Linked DNA regions of Homo sapiens: region 2 is linked to region 1. The links are contacts of gene promoters, found by promoter capture Hi-C in blood cells and fetal thymus (Javierre and others, 2016). All regions are on one chromosome and are shown on one strand. The core of a region is centred on a gene start or on the middle of the fragment in contact, and the rest is flanking DNA. Distances in the headings are between cores, read along the strand shown.

Region 1 (7,261 bases), core at 936-3,435:
ATTGCACTCCATGCTGAGCAACAAGAGTGAAACTCTGTCTCAAAATAAATAAAAAATAAAGTTGGAGGAGTGTATGTCTCAGCCTGAAGGACAGCCAACAAATACTAATGAAACATTGGCCATATCCAGGCACCATCCCAGTTGCTGGCCTTGGTGCAGTCACGAAGGCAGTCATGGCCTTATCTGTATGGAGTTTACAATTTGGTAGGAAACTCAGCTATAAACAAGCAATCAAGGTCATTGAATGCTGCTGGATGAGTACAAGATGCTGTGGAAACTTAGAAGCAGGTCTCACCTGGTCTGAGTGATTGAGCTGAGCCAGTGACATGTAGTAAACCTGCAGGAGAAGCAGGGGTATGCCAAGTAAGAGAAGGCAGAGGGGCCGGGCGTGGTGGCTTACGCCTGTAATCCCAGCACTTTGGGAGGCTGAGGCAGGCGGATCATGAGGTTAGGAGATCGAGACCATCCTGGCTAACATGGTGAAACCCCATCTCTACTAAAAATACAAAAAAATTAGCCTGGTGTAGTGGCGGGTGCCTGGAGTCCCAGCTACTCGGGAGGCTGAGGCAGGAGAATGGCGTGAAGCTGGGAGACAGAGCTTGCAGTGAGCCAAGATCGTGCCACTGCACTCCAGCCTGGATGGCTGAGCGAGACTGTCTCAAAAAAAAAAAAAAAAAAAAAAAAAAAAAAAAAAAAAAGCAGAGGTAAGATGTTACACAGAAGGAACAGCAAGTGTGAACGTCTGGAGGCAAGAAATTATGACTTCTAAGTCTAGCATTGCTGGAGAATGCTGGAGAATGCTGATGCAAGAGTCATTGTGGGACCAGATGAGGCTGTGGAGGTAGGCATGGGTCAGATAATGAAATATGATTTGTGTCCTTGAAAGGAATTTTGTGTATATGTTAAGAATAATGAGAATCCATAAGGACTCTGAGCAGGAGAATGATGATCAGATTTTTATCTTAGAATGCCACAGTGTGTGGCCGGGCACGGTGGCTCAGGCCTGTAATCCCAGCACTTTGGGAGGCTGAGGCGGGCAGATCACGACGTCAGGAGATCAAGAACATCCTGGCTAACACGGTGAAACCCCGTCTCTACTAAAAATACAAAAAATTAGCCGGGCGCGATGGCGGGTGCCTGTAGTCCCAGCTACTCGGGAGGCTGAGGCAGGAGAATGGCGTGAACCCAGCAGGAGGAGCTTGCAGTGAGCTGAGATTGCGCCACTGCACTCCAGCCTGGGTGACAGAGCGAGACTCCATCTCAAAAAAAAAAAAAAAAAAAAAAAAAGAACGCCACAGTGTGAATGGATTGAAGGCTAGTGAGCATAGCAGCAGGGAGATGAAGTAAGAGACTATTCCAATAGTCCAGACAAGAAAAGATGTCAGCCTGTTCCAGATTGTGGCAACTGGGATAAGCAGTGGGTGAATTAGAAATAGAATGAAGTACAGAATCTATATAACTTGCTAGGATTAGATGTTGATCTTGAGAGAAATAAATAAATGAAAGAAAACTCCCAGGTTTCTGACTTGAGCCTGGATTCCTTTTACTGAGATATGAGAGACTGGAGGAGCAAATTGGAAGAGTGGCAGGGTGAGATAACGAGTTTCATCTGGGATCTGTTAAGCTGAGGATGGTCATGATCCATAGGGAGATAATCAGGAAGCAACTGCTAATGCAGTACTAATGATGATAGGTTTACCCAGGAAGTTCAGATGGTAATCAGTGTCACGGGGACAGGTGAACTCTTTCAGGGCTTGATCTGTAGAATTAGAACAGAATTTAGGAAAAATTCCCAGAAAACAGCAACGTATAAGATACTGTTAGAGAAGAAACCATTTACAGTTGTTAAGAAGGAATGGCCAATATGTGTCAGGAAACCAGTGTGATTGCACGGAAGCTAATAGATAAGAGTGTTTTAGAAAGAAAGGAGGAGTCAATCTTGCTACATGTTATGCAAAGTGAGATGGATCAGTGTGAAAAGTAGCGTGGATTTTGTGATGTGGCACATTTCTGATTATAGAAATAATTATAGAAATCTCTGAATATAGAGATTGTTGTTAGGGAAAATGAGGGTGAAATCAGTGATTGAACACCTGTTGACCATGTATCATAGGAATATATTTATTTTTATTCACGGTTTTGAGGGACCCTATTATATTCTCTTAAAGATACTGGAGACAGAGCATGATGGGACAAAATCAAACCAGCATCTCAGACTTCCTGCTCCTGGGCCTGCCCATCCAACCAGAGCAGCAAAACCTGTGCTATGCCCTGTTCTTGGCCATGTATCTTACCACCCTCCTGGGGAACCTCCTCATCATTGTCCTCATTCGACTGGACTCCCATCTCCACACGCCTGTGTATTTGTTTCTCAGCAACTTGTCCTTCTCTGACCTCTGCTTTTCCTCAGTCACAATGCCCAAATTGCTGCAGAACATGCAGAACCAAGACCCATCCATCCCCTATGCAGACTGCCTGACCCAAATGTACTTCTTCTTGTATTTTTCGGATCTAGAGAGCTTCCTCCTTGTGGCCATGGCCTATGACCGCTATGTGGCCATCTGCTTCCCCATGCACTACACCGCCATCTGCTTCCTCCTGCACTACACCGCCATCATGAGCCCCATGCTCTGTCTCTCCGTGGTGGCGCTGTCCTGGGTGCTGACCACCTTCCATGCCATGTTACACACTTTACTCATGGCCAGGTTGTGTTTTTGTGCAGACAATGTGATCCCCCACTTTTTCTGTGATATGTCTGCTCTGCTGAAGCTGGCCTGCTCTGACACTCGAGTTAATGAATGGGTGATATTTATCATGGGAGGGCTCATTCTTGTCATCCCATTCCTACTCATCCTTGGGTCCTATGCAAGAATTGTCTCCTCCATCCTCAAGGTCCCTTCTTCTAAGGGTATCTGCAAGGCCTTCTCTACTTGTGGCTCCCACCTCTCTGTGGTGTCACTGTTCTATGGGACCGTTATTGGTCTCTACTTATGCCCATCAGCTAATAGTTCTACTCTAAAGGACACTGTCATGGCTATGATGTACACTGTGGTGACCCCTATGCTGACCCCCTTCATCTACAGCCTGAGGAACAGAGACATGAAGGGAGCCCTGGAAAGGGTCATTTGTAAAAGGAAAAATCCCTTCCTTCTATGACAGTAATACTTGGGAGTCTTATATAATTTTATCTAATAGATACATGGACATTAATATTTCAATATTATTTCAGATCTCTTTTTTTCTGCACATGAAACTTTTTGTTTAAATGTAATATTACATAATTTCTGAGTAAGTAAAACAGATGTGGGGGGGATATGTAGTTGAAGTAAGGTGTTCTCAGTAACCTGCTAGGAAGATTTTCCTTTTTGCTAATCCCAGGTGAAGAAAATCTTTAAATTAAAGATTTAAAATATTTAAATTAAAATTTCCGTCTTCATTGTTAAACCACCAGTTTATCATGTGTACTTGAAAAAACCCTGTAGGTCTGCTTTAAATGATATTCTGTCCTCTCATGTCAATAATAAGACCCAGACATCTCAGTCCCCTTCTTTGCTAAACAAAACTACAAATTTTGAATAAATTTTTTTTACTCATTTTCCTGAGCAAGTGTTCACATCAGCCTGTCTCCTAACTTTGTTTTCTTTCTTTTTTAAATTTTATTATTATTATACTTTAAGTTTTAGGGTACATGTGCACAATGTGCAGGTTAGTTACATATGTATACATGTGCCATGCTGGTGTGCTGCACCCATTAACTCGTCATTTAGCATTAGGTATATCTCCTAAAGCTATCCCTCCCCCCTCCCCCCACCCCACAACAGTCCCCAGAGTGTGATGTTCCCCTTCCTGTGTCCATGTGTTCTCATTGTTCAATTCCCACCTATGAGTGAGAATATGCGGTGTTTGGTTTTTTGTCCTTGCGATAGTTTACTGAGAATGATGATTTCCAGTTTCATCCATGTCCCTACAAGGGACATGAACTCATCATTTTTTACAGCTGCAAAGTATTCCATGGTGTATATGTGCCACATTTTCTTAATCCAGTCAATCATTGTTGGACATTTGGGTTGGTTCCAAGTCTTTGCTATCATGAATAGTGCTGCAATAAACATACATGTGCATGTGTCTTTACAGCAGCATGATTTATAGTCCTTTGGGTATATACCCAGTAATGGGATGGCTGGGTCAAGTGGTATTTCTAGTTCTAGATCCCTGAGGAATCGCCACACTGACTTCCACAATGGTTGAACTTTTCTTAATTTTTATGTCTGCATGTCTTTTTACCTGACCCAAACCTAAAATGAACTTTCTATTTGCTTACATACCATACTTTAGTTTATCTATATCTAAGAACTAAGTCATACCTAAGGCCCTAAAAGGACTTCTCAAGCATGGGGAAGGGAACCAAAGTCTGCTTAAGAACCTCACTCATTTGTTCACTCATTCATTTATATTAGTTATTTTGAAATTGTTTTAAAAATTGACACATAATGTACATATTTATTGGGTACAGTGTGATATTTTGATACATATATACAATGTACAATGATCAAATCAGGAAAATCAGCATTTCTATCACCTCAAAATTTATCATTTCTTAGTATTGAGAACATTCAAAATTCTCTCTTCTAGTTATTTGAAAAATGCAATAAATTGTTTACCAGAGTCATCCTACAGCGCTATAGAACACTAGAACTTATTCCTCCTATCCTATAATTTTTTATCTATTAACTAACCTCTATAACCCCACTTCTTCCCCTTCTCAGCCTCTAGCAGCCAATATTCTACTCTATACTTCTATACTGCCAACTTTTTAAGCTTCCACACACGAATGAGAATATGTGGTATTTATTTTTCTGTGCCTGACTTATTTATCAAAATATCCTTCAGGCTCATCCATGTTGCCATGAATGACAAGATTTTATACTTTTTACTGACTGAGTAGTATTCCATTGTGTATATATACACCATATTTTCATTATTCATCTGTTGATTGGCCACTTAGGTTGATTCCATATCTTGGCTAACATAAATAGTGCTAGGAGTGAAAATGTCTCTTGGACATACCTATTTTCTTTCTTTTGCATACACACCTAGTAATGGGATTGCTAGATCAATTGGTAGTTCTATTTTTAGCTTTTATGAGAACTTCCATACCATGTTCCATAATAGCTGTACTAATTTACATTCCCACCAACAACAATATATAAGAATTATCCTTCTCCATATCTTTGCCAGCATTTGTTATTTTTAGTTTTCTTGATAATACTCACATTAATTGGGGTGAGATGAGGTCTCATTTTGGTTTTGATTTGAATTTCCCTGATAATTAGTGATATTGGGCATTTTTTCACACACGTTGTTCATTTGTATGTCTTTTTTTGAGAAATGTTTATTCAGATCCTTTGCCCATTTTTTAACTTAGATTATTATTATTATTATTTGCTGTTGAGTTGAATTCCTTGTACATTTTGGATATTAAAACCTTACCAAATGAATAGCTTGCAAAGATTTTCTCCCATTCTACAGGTTTTCTGTTCATCCTGTTGATGGTTTTCTTGCTGTGCAGAAGCTTTTTAGTTTGATATAATCCAAGTTGTCTATTTTTTCTTTTGTTGGCTGTGCTTTTGAGGTATTATCCATAAAATATTTGCCCAGAGTAAGTTGCTGAAACATTTTCCCTATGTTGTCTTCTAGTAGTTGCATAGTGTTGGGTATTACATTTAAGTCTTTAATCAATTTTGAGTTAATATTTGTATATGGTGAGAGGTAGGGGCCTAGTTTTATTCTTCTGCATGTAGATATTCAGTTTTCACAGCACAATTTATTGAAGAGACTGACTTTCCCAGTGTATGTTCTTGGTGTTTTTGTTGAAAATTGGTTGGCTGTAAATACATGGATTTATTTCTGGATTCTCTATTGTGTTCCATTGGTCTGTCTGTTATTATACCTGTACCGTGCTGTTTTGATTACTATAGTTGTGTAGTGTAGTTTGAAGTCACGTAGTGTGATACAGTGAGTTTTTTTCTTTTTGCTCAGGATTGGTTTGGCTATTTGGGGTGTTTCGTGGTTCCATATAAATTTCAGGATTTTTTTTTTCTATTTCATGAAAGAATATCATTTCTATTTGATAGGAATTACATGGAATTGGTAGATTGCTTTGGGTAGTATGGTCATTTTAACAATATTATTTCTTCCAATCCATGAACATGGAATGTTTTTCCTTTTTTTTTTTTATCCTCTTCATTTTCTTTCATATAATTTTCCTTATAGAGATTGGTTAGATTTTTTTCCTAGGTAGTGGGATTGCTTTCTTGATTTATTTTCAGCTACTTTGTTTTTGGTGTATAGGAATGCTACTAATTTTTGTATGTTGATTTTGTATTCTGCAACTTTACTGAATTTGCTTAATTTAATTTAAATCTAAGACATTTTGGTGGGATTCTTAGGCTTTTCTATAGATAGGACTATTTATCTGCAAAGGACAATTTGACTTCCTTCTTTTTGGTTTAGATGCTGTCTATTTTTTCTCTTGTCTAACTGCTCTTGATAGGATTTCCAGTAGCATATTTAATAAGATTAGCAAGAGTACACATCCTTGTCTTATTCCAGTTCTTAGAGAAAAAGCTTTCAGCTTTTCTCCGTTCAACATGATATTAGCTGTGGGTTTGCCATATTTGGTCTTTATTGTGTTTAGGTACATTTCTTCTATACCTAATTTATTGAGAATTTTTTTCATAAAGTGATGTTGAATTTTATCAAATGCTTTTTCTGTGTCTATTGAGATGATCATATGGGTTTTGTCCTTCATTCTGTTAATGTGATGTATCTCATATGTTGATTTCCATATGTTGAGCCATCTTTGCATTCTTGAGATAAATCCACTTGAATCCACTTGAACATAGTGCATAATCTTTTTGATGTGCTGTTGGATTTTGTTTGCTAGTATTTTGTGAAGAATTTTTGCATCTATGTTCATCAGGGATATTGGCCTTTAGTTTTCTATTTTTGTTTTTTCGTCTTGTTTTAGTATCAGGGTAATGCTATCCTTATAGAATGTGTTTGGAAGAGTTTCCTCCTCTTCTGTTTTTTGAAACAGCTTGAAAAGAAATTGTATTAAGGGTTTTTTTTCTCTAAAGTTTTGAACAATTCAGCAGTGAAACCATTTGATCCTGGACTTTTTTGTTGTTGTTGTTGTTGGCAGATGTTTACTTACAGATTCAATCTTATTACTCATTATTGGTCTGTTCAGGTTTGTTTT
Region 2 (6,930 bases), core at 4,286-6,785, 340 kb after region 1:
TTTAAGGCTAAAGTACAGCCATTCCGTTTTTCTTGTGGTTCCTGATTGCATGGTATCTTTTCCCATCCTCTTACTTTCAACCTTGCTGTATCTGTGAATCAAGTAGGTTTTCTGTAGAATGCATATAAATGAATCATGTTTTTATCCACTCTGACAGTCTCTGCCTTTTGATTGAATTGTTCTATGCATTCACACTTAATGTTATGATTGATATAGTTAGATTTATGTCTCCCATTTTACTTTGTGTTTTCTATGTGTCCCATGTCCTTTTTTCCTCTATTTTCCTTGTCCACTTCCTTTTCCATTAAGTTAATATTTTCTCATGTTGCATTTTAATTTCTTTAATAATTTTTTCACTCTATTTTTGAAGGTAATTTTTAGTGGTTGCTCTAAAGTCTACCACATACATCTTATCAGAATCAGCTGCAGATTTATACCAACTTAAGTCCAATGATATATAGAAAATGATTTCTATATAATTCTATTATTTTCTTCCTTTTGTAGTATTATTGTTACAGATGTAACATCTATTAATCCTGATAATCCACTGTTATAATTACTACTATACCTTCTGTAGTCATTTCCTTAGTCCAACTTTGCCTCCACCCAGCTCCTTTATGCTGTAATCGACAAACATGTTATACATATATTTCTATATGCTATGGCCTCAACGATACATCATATACATATTATCTTACATAAATGGTGTTTAAATAAGTTATAAGAAAAAACAAGAAAATATGAATTTATACTGTCATACTTAATAGATATATGTAAAATATTACATAGATATATAGATTATATCAATATATATTTACATATTTACATACATTTATAATATCACATTTTCATACTTTATCACTGTTCTTTCCTTTTTGTGCATGTGGATTCAAATTATCATCTGAGGTAACTTACTTTCAACCTAAAGAAATTTCTTTAGTAGTTTTTATAAGATAGGTCTGCTAGCAAAAATTTTCTGTGTTTTTGTTCACCTGAGATAATCTTTATTTGGCCTTCATTCTTTTAAAGATAGTTTTGCTGAATATTAGACTCTTACTTGATGGGTTTTTTCTTCAACCATTTTGAATATGTTATCCAACTGTCTTGGAGCCTCCTTTGTCTCTGTTGAGAAGTCTGTTGTTCATATTATTAGGCTTCCTTTGTAAGTAAAAAATCTTTTTTACTTGCTGATTTCAAGATTTTCTCCTTGTCTCTGCCTTTCAGCCTTTTTACTATGATGTGTCTATTTGTGAATCTCTTTGTATTTATTCTGCCTAAAGTTTGTCGAGTTTCCTATATGTGTAGTTTTTTAAACAAATTTACTACGTTTTCAGCCATTCTTTCTTTGGATTTTTTTTCTGATTTTTCTCTCTCCTGTCCTTCAGCACTTGCATTCCATGTGTGCTGGTATGCTTAATGGTGCTCCACACTTTTCTGAGTCTCTGTTCATTTTTCTTCATTTTTTCTCTTCCTCTATTTTTCAGCTTGATATCAATCTATCTTAAAGAATGCTATTTTTTCTGCTAGTTCAATACTACTATTCAGCCTGACTAATAAAATCTTCATTTCAGTTACTGTACATTTTGACTGCAGGATTTCCATTTGGCTCTCTTTTATCCATTCTTTTTATTGATATTCCCCATTTGTCATGACATTCTCACTGTACCTTCCTTTACTTCCCTAATCATGCTTTCTCTTAGTTTTGTGAAAATATTTTCAATGGCTACTTTGAGGTCTTTTCAAAGAAGGCTGACATCACATTGTGCTCACAGGTAGTTTCTGTTGCCTGATTTTTTCCTCATATGTGGATCATACTTTGTTTCTTTTCATGGTTCATAAATTTTGTTGGAATATGGACATTTTAGATAATTTATTGTAACAATTCAGGGTACTAGTCTCCCCTAATGGGGCTGGTTATTGGTATTTACCTATTTGCTTAGTTCCCACAGTCACTGAGAACTGTCAGTAGTATTGGAAGAGATCTTACTCTTTCCCTGACCGCATTCAGCTGTTTTATATATACTACATTTTTTTATATTTTTACATATACATGTTTCTTTTTTCTTTTTTGATTTTTTAAACATTTTATTCTATACACATTAGGCTTTCGAAGGAAAAAAAGGCACACTATAGTATTTTAATCTTTAGTATGTTTTAAATGTGTTTGATAAGATACAAAATATTGTTCGAACTAGTCCTCCGAAATTAATTACACAGTTATCTCAATGTGCCATTTCTTGAATAATGCAGGCTTTACTTGCTAATATAGAGTGTACCCATGCAGAATTTACCGGCTAATATACAGTGCACCCAAATTAATCTGCCAAATTCCACGTTTTTGTGTCTATCTGTGAAGTTTCTACTGATCTGTTCATTCCAACATTACTATCATATTGCTTTAGAATTCTTAATATTTGATGTGCAAGCATCACCCTGTTATTCTTTTATTCAATGTTTTTCTAGCTTATCTACATGCTTATATTTAGATGAAATTTAGACCAGTTTCATTTCTCCAAAACCCTGTTATAATTTTGATATCCAGTAAACTTTCAATTAATTCAAAAGAGTATATAGCTTGGTGACACTTCTCTTCATATTAGAAACCTTGATATGTTTATCAATTTATTTAATTTTTACTTTACCCCTCACTGGAGAATTTGAAGGTTTCGCCTGATTCTTGTTAACATCTGAGTGCCATGATTTATTTGTTGACAGTGGGGATGAGATAGTTTTTCATTATAACATTTTTCCTGATTCTCGTTAAATATAACAATAATAGGCAACATTTCTGAGTGCTAATTGCCTACCAACTCCTTGTGTTAAGCACTTTACTACTTAATTTTCCCCCACCCTATAACTCATGATTCGCATGAAGAAACTGAGTCTTAAGGAACTCTGGAACCCTACCTGAGGTTTCACAGCAAGTAAGTGGCAGTGCGTACTATCTTACTAGCAGGGAAAGACTTGATTTCAAGTATTCTAAACTCTATTTCTAGTAGTCTTTCAGTGGATAGTCCCACTTTTTTCAGATAGATCATCATATCAACAAATAATAATTGTTCCTACTCCTTTCAAATACTTTTATTTTCTTCCTTTTTTGAACTACTTATACTGCATGTATCTATATTAATTATTTTAACACATATACATATCATAACACACTAATCACCAAACACTTCAAGAATAGTGTAAGATGACAGGATTGAAAATAAGAATTACACATTATTCCTTTAACATTGAGTTTCCCAGCTTTGAAGTAGCTGAAATAATTATATCGCATAAAAACTTTGTTATATTTTTCACTTTCTTATTTTCAAAAATTATAAAATTGGGTGTAAGACATTCTTAATTCTAAGAAAATGTTGATTTTGCTTATCTTCATGTTTTTATTCAATTAAGGACTTTTGGTAAACATTTGCTGGTGTTAATGTTAAAAGAGAGTTGGGGAAATGGATGGAGGCAACCAGAGTGAAGGTTCAGAGTTCCTTCTCCTGGGGATGTCAGAGAGTCCTGAGCAGCAGCGGATCCTGTTTTGGATGTTCCTGTCCATGTACCTGGTCACGGTGGTGGGAAATGTGCTCATCATCCTGGCCATCAGCTCTGATTCCCGCCTGCACACCCCCGTGTACTTCTTCCTGGCCAACCTCTCCTTCACTGACCTCTTCTTTGTCACCAACACAATCCCCAAGATGCTGGTGAACCTCCAGTCCCATAACAAAGCCATCTCCTATGCAGGGTGTCTGACACAGCTCTACTTCCTGGTCTCCTTGGTGGCCCTGGACAACCTCATCCTGGCTGTGATGGCATATGACCGCTATGTGGCCATCTGCTGCCCCCTCCACTACACCACAGCCATGAGCCCTAAGCTCTGTATCTTACTCCTTTCCTTGTGTTGGGTCCTATCCGTCCTCTATGGCCTCATACACACCCTCCTCATGACCAGAGTGACCTTCTGTGGGTCACGAAAAATCCACTACATCTTCTGTGAGATGTATGTATTGCTGAGGATGGCATGTTCCAACATTCAGATTAATCACACAGTGCTGATTGCCACAGGCTGCTTCATCTTCCTCATTCCCTTTGGATTCGTGATCATTTCCTATGTGCTGATTATCAGAGCCATCCTCAGAATACCCTCAGTCTCTAAGAAATACAAAGCCTTCTCCACCTGTGCCTCCCATTTGGGTGCAGTCTCCCTCTTCTATGGGACACTTTGTATGGTATACCTAAAGCCCCTCCATACCTACTCTGTGAAGGACTCAGTAGCCACAGTGATGTATGCTGTGGTGACACCCATGATGAATCCCTTCATCTACAGCCTGAGGAACAAGGACATGCATGGGGCTCTGGGAAGACTCCTAGATAAACACTTTAAGAGGCTGACATGAGGGCAATTTGGAAAGACAGCATTAAAGTGGAGACTAGGAATATCCTTCACCCTATGTAAGGGATTGTCCTGTGTGTTATACAGCAGTGATTGGGACATGGCTCCAGCTCAGAGACAGCATATAGATATGTGGTGATAAAAAAGACATATTTGTAACCTGGTGTCCCCCAGGTCTCATCAGCCTTGGCCGTAAATAAGGTCACACTAACACCAACACTAGAATGTTGCAGGGTCAAATTCTTCAATGTACTTGACTACAGGGCCACATTCTTGGCCTTATCTGACTATATCCAGTTTAAACCTAGAAGTGTCTCTCATCTAGCACACATCCAAAGTACAGAAAGTAAATAGTAGCTGATAAGAAAGTTAGTCACATGGCTGTGGAGGTTTGAAAGAGATTGCAATCATACATATTTGTATCAGCTGATCCAGCACGTGATATAGACCTCGACAGGTGGTGTTCAATTCATTTGACATTCATGCAGTCATTCATCAACTCATTCTATTCATAATGACAGTGTACAGAGGCCTCAAACTGGGTTACAAATGTGAGGTCACAGTCTACTCGGGGAAGTACATAAATTTACATTAAACATAAATGGACCTAACTCATCAATTAAAAAGTAATGTTCAACATACTGATTAAAAAATAAAATATAGATAGATGTATTTAAAGAGACACGATGAAAGCACAGGAATATATAAAGCTTGAAATTAAAAAGAGAAACAGACATATTTGGAAAATACTAAATATTTTAAGTGAAATATTGCTGCAATGACATCAGGTAAAAGATATTTCAAAACGGGTGAAAGGAGTGATGTCAACAAGATGGTGGAATCGACAGTTGTATCTCTCATCCACCAACATACAGACTAATTTATCAACCATCCACAGATGAAAATACCTTTGTGAGAGCTCCAGAATCCAAGTGAAAGTTTATAGCACCCTGGTAGTACACAGAAGTAGAAAAAACACCATATTGAACATTGTAGAAAAAACTCTGTCACATTACCTGAATCACCCCTCACCCAAGCCAGCACAGAGTAGCACAAAGAGAGATCCCCTCATCTCATGAGTTCTTCCATAAGTAAAAAAGAAAATAAAACATATGTACAACTTCCCCTGACTTTCAGGATGCTAACCAAGAGGACCACTTCTGTCATGCCTCACCAAGAATACTGAGGCAATTCACATGGCCAGACCCCTCTGAGTAGCTAAGAACAAGAAAAAAAAAAAATAAGAAAATGGTTGGGAGCTCTTAATAGTCAGTATGTGTATTTTAACAACTGGGGCCTTGCACCCTACAGTGGGCCTGTGCATGGTGCCCAGAAGCTGGCCCATCCACCCACATCCCCAAGCACTAGGCCTGCCTGCCCATAGACCCTGCCAACTGGCCAGCCCAGAATATCTGGCTAAGCTGACTGGTGAAAAACAGTTCCTATCAAATTGGACTTTCCCTATCAAAACCAGCCTGTAAAGACTAAAAGAGATGACTGCTTCTTCAAATGTGCAAACACAAATGTGAAGCTACAGGAAACACAAGGAATCAAGGAAACTTAGCAAAGCCAAAGGAACAAAATAAAGCTTCAGAAACCATCAAAGAAATGGAGAAATATGAACTGCCTGACAAAGAATTCAAGTGATCATTTGAAGAAACATGGTGACCCACACAAAAACACAGGTAAACTACTAAACAAAATCAGGAAATCAATACATAAATAAAATGTAAATTTCAACAAACAGAAACCACAAAAAAGAAACAGTAATTCTGGAGCTAAATAATACAATGACTAAACTTTAAAAAACTCAAAAGAGCTTCAGCAGCAGATATGAAGAAACAGAAGAAAGAATTCACTACTCAAAAACAGGTCATTTGAAAGTACTAGTAAGAGAAACAAATGGAAAAAGAGTGAAGAAAGCCTATGGGACATATGGGACCCATCAAACAAATACACACATTACATAAGTATCAGAAGGAAAAGTGAAAGAAAAGGAGGCAGAAAACTTATTTTTCTAAAAATGGCTATTCACAGCAGCCACCACAGGCAGGAAAACAGAAACCTGAAAGTGCTGCTTGCTTTCTCAACAGGGAGACTTGCAGCCTGGAACAAGTTTTCAGCCCTGCTCACCAGCTACCCGGAAATAAACTCAGCACTGTTAGGGGTAGGGCACATTGGGAGTGACATGGCCACTTGGACAGCATGGGAGCTGGGTGAGGCCTATCACTGCTGGCTTTCCACCACTTCCCTGGCAACCTGTATGACACAGCAGAGGCAGCCATAATCCCCATGGGAACATAACTTCATTGGCCTGTTAACCACACCCCCATCCCTCACAGTGGCCACAGCAAGCCCCACCGAAGGAGAGTCGGAGCTCACACATGCCTAACCCTGCCCCAACCTAATGGTCTTTCTCTACGCACCCTGGTAGCCGAAGACAAAGGGCATAATCTCTTGGGAGCTCTATGGTCCCACTCACCACCTGAGAAACTGGAATACTTATCCAGGCCACCTTAGGGCAAGTTTGTATCCCCCCTATGCTA

The links. Contacts are between HindIII fragments. The CHiCAGO score rates a contact against its expected background, and 5 or more counts as called.
Region 2: a fragment that was not itself captured here is called in contact with the fragment with the promoter of OR1E2 in region 1 in 7 of 17 cell types (M2 macrophages, M0 macrophages, M1 macrophages and 4 more); the score reaches 12.6 in M2 macrophages.

Annotation. Positions count from the first base shown.
Region 1 is chr17:3,428,765-3,436,025 of GRCh38, reverse strand. It overlaps OR1E2 (olfactory receptor family 1 subfamily E member 2), which reads left to right and starts at 2,185. Exons shown (of 1, transcript NM_003554.2): 1 at 2,185-3,156. The coding sequence starts at 2,185. The coding sequence ends at 3,156. The HindIII fragment of the contact is 9,794 bases long and covers 1-4,820 here.
Region 2 is chr17:3,089,516-3,096,445 of GRCh38, reverse strand. OR1D2 (olfactory receptor family 1 subfamily D member 2) reads left to right here. Exons shown (of 2, transcript NM_002548.3): 2 at 3,400-6,930. The coding sequence starts at 3,450. The coding sequence ends at 4,388. Among named protein-coding and RNA genes, the nearest start is that of OR1D2, 11 kb to the left of the region's middle. The HindIII fragment of the contact is 878 bases long and covers 5,097-5,974 here.